2 separate regions of the Homo sapiens genome follow, and region 2 is linked to region 1. Evidence: promoter capture Hi-C in 16 types of primary human blood cells and fetal thymus (Javierre and others, 2016). All regions are on one chromosome and are shown on one strand. The core of a region is centred on a gene start or on the middle of the fragment in contact, and the rest is flanking DNA. Distances in the headings are between cores, read along the strand shown.

Region 1 (3,592 bases), core at 770-3,269:
TTGGAGTGCATTTAGAAGCAAGGCTGGGAGAAGGATGAGATTGAGAGATATAAGGCACCTTACTGGGCCTGGAAGCAGAAGAGGGGGATGGCTACTGGCAACTTTTAGGAAGTTTTGCTTGGTGGCTTTTTTTTTTTTTGAGACAGTGTCTCGCACTGTCACCTGGGCTGGAGTGCAGTGGCGCAATCTCAGCTCACTGCAACCTCCACCTCCAGGGTTCAAACGATTCTCCTGCCTCAGCCTCCCGAGTAGCTGGGATTACAGGCATGCGCCACCACGCCCATCTAATTTTTTGTATTTTTAGAGAGATGGGGGTTTTCCGTGTTGGTCAGGCTGGTCTCAAACTCCCGACCTCAGGTTATCCACCTGCCTCAGCCTCCCAAAGTGCTGAGATTACAGGCGTGAGCACTGCGTCTGGCCTTATTTTTCTTTTTAAAAATTTTTTAGTGGCCAGGTCTTTTTTTTTTTAGACGGAGTCTGGCTCTGTCGCCCAGGCTGGAGTGCAGTGGCACGATCTAGGCTCACTGCAAGCTCCGCCTCCCGGGTTCACGCCATTCTCCTGCCTCAGACTCCCGAGCAGGTGGGACTACAGGCGCCCGCCACCACACCTGGCTAATTTTTTGTATTTTTAGTAGAGACGGGGTTTCACCGTGTTAGCCAGGATGGTCTCGATCTCCTGACCTCGTGATCCGCCCGCCTCGGCCTCCCAAAGTGCTGGGATTACAGGCGTGAGCACCGCGCCCGGCCAGAAATCCTATTTTCTTTCACATGAGTTATTTTGTTGATTGTTTGCTTATAACTAAAGCCCTCAGAATCAGAGTTTATACTGTATCTTTTTCTGTGTTCCTACATAGATGGCAATAAATGATTCTAATGTTTATGATGTAGAAGCTGAGGAGGCTAATACCTATTTCTGGCTCCTTTTAGGAGACACAGTCATAACAAAAAATATTGCTTAATGTGCGAGGCACAGTGCCAAGTGGTTTACATACATTGTGTAATTCTCCCCCTAAAAAAGTCAATGAAGTTGATACAATTATTATTTCATTATATGTAAAATAGGGAAAATAACAGCATTTATCTCAGAGGGCTGTTGTAAAGATTAAATGAATGCCTGTAATCCCAGCACTTTGAAAGGCCGAGGCAGGCAGATCACCTTAGCTCAGGGGTTCGAGACCAGCCTGGCCAACATGGTGAAACCTGGTCTCCACTAAAAATACAAAAAAATTAGCTGGGCATGGTGGTGCGCGCCTGTAATTCCAGCTACTCGGGAGGCTGAGGCAGGAGAATAGCTTAAACCCGGGAGGTGGAGGTTGCAGCGAGCCGAGATCGCGCCACCACACTCCAGCCTGGGCGACAGAGCGAGACTCTGTCTCAAAAAAAAAAAAAAAAAAGTAAATGAGAATATACATAAAGCACTTAGCACAATGGCATACTATTTACTATAGTTTACTATTTATTGCAACTCTCATTTTGCAGGTATCTTGCCTAAGGTGCAAGCAGAAGAAACAGGATTTTCAACCCAGATCTGAAAACTCCCAAGCCTCTGCCTTTTTCTTTTTATCCTTTTTCTTTTTCCTTGTTAAAAAACTTGCTTCCTGTACAGAGAGGGGAAATGCTCAGTCCCCACGTCAGTGGTTGAACTCCAAGCCAGAAGATCCCTATTTTGATTTTGTCCTCTGGCCTGTCGCCAGCCCCTCAACAGTACTTGAATTAATAAAAGGGCAGGTTTTAAGCCTCATGTATCTGCGCAGGTGACTCCTTCTGTGACCCCGAATAAACCTGTTCCGGTCCCGTTCCGGGGAAACAGCCTTGCCTTCCCCTGCCCCCAGAAAGTTACCCTCGCCCTCCGAGCCACAACTCCCCACGCCGCCAACTCGGTCTTTACATCATTTTCGACGCCCCCTAAGTCCCTCCCGAGAGGCGCAGGCGCACATCGCCCCTTCTAGCGAACTACATCTCCCACAATCCCAATCGGCCGGACCACCTCCGCTCGGGGCGGGGACGGAGGTGGAGCTGGTGGTCCCCGGTCGGGACGAAGGCTCCCGAGGTGCCCTGCCTGGGTCCTCCGGGGTAAAGTTCGTTTGGCGGAAGATTGTCCGTTTTCCTGGTAAGGTCACCTGTCCCAATCAGGTACGATTCTGCCTTCCGTACCCCCGAGCCCCTCAGTGTAAAGTGGCAAATGGTCTAGCCCGGCGGAGGCACCAGCTGGAGGCGGTGGGAGGGACACCCGCAGTGAAGGGCGGACCGCGCACGCATGCGCAGAGGCGCGGCAGGGGGGCGGGAGCCGCGGAACCCCTACCCCAGGTCTGCGCAGGTGAGGAGGGGGCGGGGCAGGACCGACCTCCCTTGCCATGATAACCACCTTCGCAGCCGGCTCCCAGACCGTTGGCACCGATTGCCTAGAAAATAGGGGGTCTCAGGAGCTCCGTTTTAGCGTTTATATATCCCAATTCCAATTAAGCCACTTCCAGTATTTTTTGGCCATTGTCAGTGTACAAGTCTTCCTCCTCTTCGAGACCATGTTATTGCAATAGCAGCAAACGTGTTGGGAGGCCTCACAATTCATCATGGTTTTTCTGGCCTCTGGCAGATAGCTCCTTCCTAGCGAGCTGTGGAGCTTAAAGTCTTTTGGACACTTGATTCTATTCAATCCAGTATCAGACCAGGTACGTACCTTGTCCATAAGTCGTCTTATGAGAAGACTTCTTGAGATGATGCAGACTCTCGTGCAGTTTATAATCGGCTGGAGGTATAGACAGTTAAGCAAGCCTCCTTTTTTACTGTGCCCACCCCTAACCATTTTGCTTACACCTTGTTATGGGACTTGGTTAAATTGCTTAACCTTCCGGACCTACGTTTTCTCATTAAATGAGAAGATTGGATTAGATGATCTCTAAGAACTTTCCACTTGTAAAATATACGGTTAGTTAGTGAGGGGTAGAATCCAGATTCTATCTATCTATATTTTTTTGAGACAGAGTCTCACTCTGTTGCCCAGGCTGGAGTGCAGTGGCACGATCTCGGTTCACTGCAACCTCCACCTCCCGGGTTCAAGCGATTCTCTTGCCTCAGCCTCCCGAGTAGCTGGGACTGCAACCTCCAGTTAATTTTTGTATTTTTAGTAGAGACAGGGTTTTGCCATGTTAGCCAGGCTGATCTCGAACTCCTGACCTCAGGTGATCCACCCACCTCGGCCTCCTAAAGTACTGGGATTACAGGCGTGTGCCACCGTGCCTGGCCCCACAATATGTTAACACTAAACTTCATCAGCTTCCACTTTTCTGCCCACATCAGTGAAATATAGCTATAAGAATGCAGCTGGTGGGGCTGGGTGCGGTGGCTCACGCCTGTAATCCCAGCACTTTGGGAGGTCGAGGCGGGCAGATCACAGGGTCAGGAGATCGAGACCATCCTGGCTAACACGGTGAAACGCCGTCTCTACTAAAAATACAAAAATTAGCCAGGAGTGGTGTCGTGCACCTGTAATCCCAGCTACTTGGGAGGCTGAGGCAGGAGAATCGCTTGAACCCGGGAGGCAGAGGTTGCAGTGAGCCGAGATCATGCCATTGCACTCCAGCCTGGGTGAGAC
Region 2 (3,593 bases), core at 453-2,952, 300 kb after region 1:
CTGCATATTCAAGCTTGTTGCCAGATCTGCTGTTTCTGGGCCTCTCTCATTCTCAACTTCCTTGTGTTGAAAAATGAAGATATGAATTCCTCTCTCACAAGGGCTGTTGTGGAAATTCAATAAAAGTAATTTTGTGAGAGCTTTTAGCACGGTGCTGGCATTCAAGTGGTTGGTTGCTCAATAAATATTTGCTGGGTGAAAAAAATCTGATATTTACTTCAGAGTTCACTATGTCATTTTTCTTAATGAAAGTATATCCAAGTAGATATCTTGCTAAAATAAGAACAGCTGGAAACTATCTTAAGTGGAATTGCCTGAAGAAGAGGTGTGTCCATTTTCATTGTTTTGTAGAGTTTAGTTCATCCAGCATATCCCTCGCTTCCTTTCCTTCTTTATAGGGTTCCACAAGGAGCTTTGCTGTGGGCGAACTGTTAGCTGGAGCTGTGATAATTAGGCCAAGGTCATGCATCTGTCCCTTGTGGGCCAGTTAGCTCAGCTTGGCTCCATGTCCATACGCATTGATCTTAACCCAGCGGCAGACTCACAAGTGTGTGACCGCATCCCAGAGGACTGCGGGGGAAGGGTTTCTGTGGATCAGGGCAAATCGCTCCTGCCGGAGAAGCACCTTCACGGTCAGCTCTCTTATGGTTATTATGACCTGAAGGTGGCGCTGTTTCTCAAGGAAAACTGGCGTAGGGTCGCCGACAGTCTATTTTAAAGTGAGTGTGAAATGATAGAATGTCAGAGTTGGAGAGAATCTGCGAGGTAATCTTTGGATCGATTTCCTCACTTTCCAGCCAAGGAAACAGATCCAGAGGGATAAAACTCTTGTCAGAAGTCACACCACAGATTCCTGACAGAGGCATGGCTAGACACGGGCCTCCCAGGTCATAAACTTTTACAATTTTCACTGCACTAAGGGTTTCCTGATCCTAAATGGTATCAAGCAATTAATAATGCTTAAAAGAAAACTGAATGAATCATTGATAACTAACCTGGTGATATTGTCAATGAATTAAGTTACTGAATTTCAAATGTCTGTTATTTCTAATCACAGGTCAGATTCAAGTTGTTTTGGCTTTTACTACAAAAAGCATCTTTACATATATCTGCAATTTAATGGATAATTTATTTTCCCTTTCCATACATCTGAAAGAAGAAACATAATTGGTATGAACAGCACTTAATTCCAGACTGACTTCTTTTGAACTGTAGGTAAGCATTATTTGTTTGAATGATTACAATTGAGACAAAATGTGGGTTTTTAACAGCTGCTCACAGATTGCAGGCTGATAATGACAGTAACTCTATGGCAGCTATTTGTAACCCCTACCCTAGTTCATAGAAAGAGAAGCATATTAGACAGTGGGCATGGCAAGTACCTCTCCGCAGGTGTGTACGGAATCAGAATTCAACTTTTAGAAGATTTCTGCTCTGAAAACAAATTATTTTTTAAAGTAAGCTTTTACTTATTTTGGGGGGTATGGTGAGTACTTGGGAACGTGAGAGAGTGTTTCCTACTTTTCTCATGGTGAGAGTTGACAAGATGTGAGGTTTGGAGCCTGTGTTGTAGAATTCAAGGTCATCAAAAAAGGCAGGTCTTGTGGCTCTGCTTGAGGCATGAGTTAAAACTTTTCTTATCATCCTGATCAAATACAGTTGTAGGAGTTGTCGCAGGGAGATTAGCACCCTTTCTCCAGTTCATCTTGGACAGGTGGTTTTTATTATTCTTGTATTTGGTTTTTATCCTCTTTCTTTCAGAGCTAAGGGAGACTCATCAGAATGGATGGTTTCTGAAATAGGAATCTATTCAAGATTTAGGAATATAGAATTTTTATTTTTTAAAACACATTACATTTCATTACACTGTCCAATGATATAACAGAACCACAGACTTTTCTGGTTGTGTCCTGCTCTTTATTTTTACCTGGATCCAAGCTTTCTTCAATGATTCTCTCTCTCTCTCTTTTTCTTTTTCTTTCTTTTTTTTTTTTTCTTTTTTGAGTTGGAGTCTTGCTCTGTCACCCAGGCTGGAGTACAGTGGTGTGATCTTGGCTCACTGCAACCTCCGCCTCCTGGGTTCAAGTGATTCTCGTGCCTCAGCCTCCTGAGTAGCTAGGATTACAGGTGTATGCTACAATGCCTGATAAACTTTTGTATTTTTTGGTAGAGACTGGATTTCACCATGTTGCCCAGGCTGGTCTCAAACTTCTGGCTTCAAACTATCTGCCTGCCTCAGCCTCCCAAAGTGCTGGGATTACAGGCGTGAGCACCGTGCCCTGCCTCTCTTCAAGGACTCTCTTTGCTACATCGGCATCACCTGGGAACGTGGTAGGGCTACAGAATCTTGGGCCCCACCTTGGACCTACCTAATCGTCATCTTATTCATTGGTGTTCCCTTCGCCAGGTGAGTTTTGCACTGACTAAAACACACAGATCTATCAGGTGAGTCGAAATGGCAATACTCATTTACCTTAGTTCTGCCTTTATTTTACTTTCAGTGTTTTATCCTTGTCCATGGAGTCACTCTCATTCATGCAGTTCCACAAATATTTTTTAAGGCCCACTCTGTGGCAGACATAATACAAAGGGCTGAGAATAAAGATGAAAAAAATCATTTACTCAAAGTATGTAGTATGTCATCCAATGATAAGTTATGGAGGAAAAGGCAGGCTAAGGGGGCCGGGAGTGTGGGAAAAGGGTGCAGTGGTATACAGAGTGATCAGCGAAGCCTTCTCCCAGGAAGGGGCCTCTGAGCAGAGAAGGGGAGGACAGAAGGAAAAGTCACGTGGAGGGCTCAGGGAACTACCTCCTCTGCCCTCCAAAGCCACTAGCGAATCGCTGTGTGCGAGGGTTGCCACATTTAGCAAAAATACAAGATACCTAGTTGCATTTGAATTTCAGATCAACCTTGAATATGTGTTGGGTATAACATACTAACTTTTTTTCTTTTTCTTTTTCCTTTTTTTTTTTGTTTTGAGACAGAATCTCACTCTGTTGCCCAGGCTGGAGTGCCGTGGTGCGATCTCGGCTCACTGCATCCTCCGCCTCCCTGGTTCAAGAGATTCTCTTGCCTCAGCCTCCTGAGTAGCTGGGATTACAGGCACCTGCCACCATACCCAGCTAATTTTTGTATTTTTAGTAGAGACAGGGTTTCGCCATGTTGGCCAGGCTGGTCTTGAACTCCTGACCTCAGGTGATCCGGCCGCCTCGGCCTCCCAAAATGCTGGGATTACAGGCGTGAGCACCGTGCCTGGCCTAACTTTTAATATTAAAATACACATATATAAAATTTAGTACATATACTAGTACATAGTACATGTACTAAATTATATTGTAATGTTTTTAGTATGTCCCATACAATATTTACGACATATTTATTTATACTAAACAAATTCATTGTTTATCAGAAATTAAAATTTAACTGGGCATCCCATATCTGTGTGACCCTCTGTGTGACCGATGGCTTGTGGACCAGACCATGAGCTTGGGGAATGTCCTTCTCAGCAGGACCACCATTTCCCTTCTCAGTCAACCCTCACCTTGTTCCCTAGGCTCTGGGCAGGGTCACCTTGAAGGCGGCCATCTGTGGC

What was found. Contacts are between HindIII fragments. The CHiCAGO score rates a contact against its expected background, and 5 or more counts as called.
Region 2: a fragment that was not itself captured here is called in contact with the fragment with the promoter of DNAJC28 in region 1 in 1 of 17 cell types (total B cells); the score reaches 5.2 in total B cells.

What each region holds. Positions count from the first base shown.
Region 1 is chr21:33,490,143-33,493,734 of GRCh38, reverse strand. It overlaps DNAJC28 (DnaJ heat shock protein family (Hsp40) member C28), which reads left to right and starts at 2,019. Exons shown (of 2, transcript NM_001040192.3): 1 at 2,019-2,133. The HindIII fragment of the contact is 6,958 bases long and covers 1-3,592 here.
Region 2 is chr21:33,194,125-33,197,717 of GRCh38, reverse strand. LOC105372787 (a long non-coding RNA gene) reads left to right here and starts at 2,201. Exons shown (of 3, transcript XR_937675.3): 1 at 2,201-2,407. The HindIII fragment of the contact is 476 bases long and covers 1,465-1,940 here.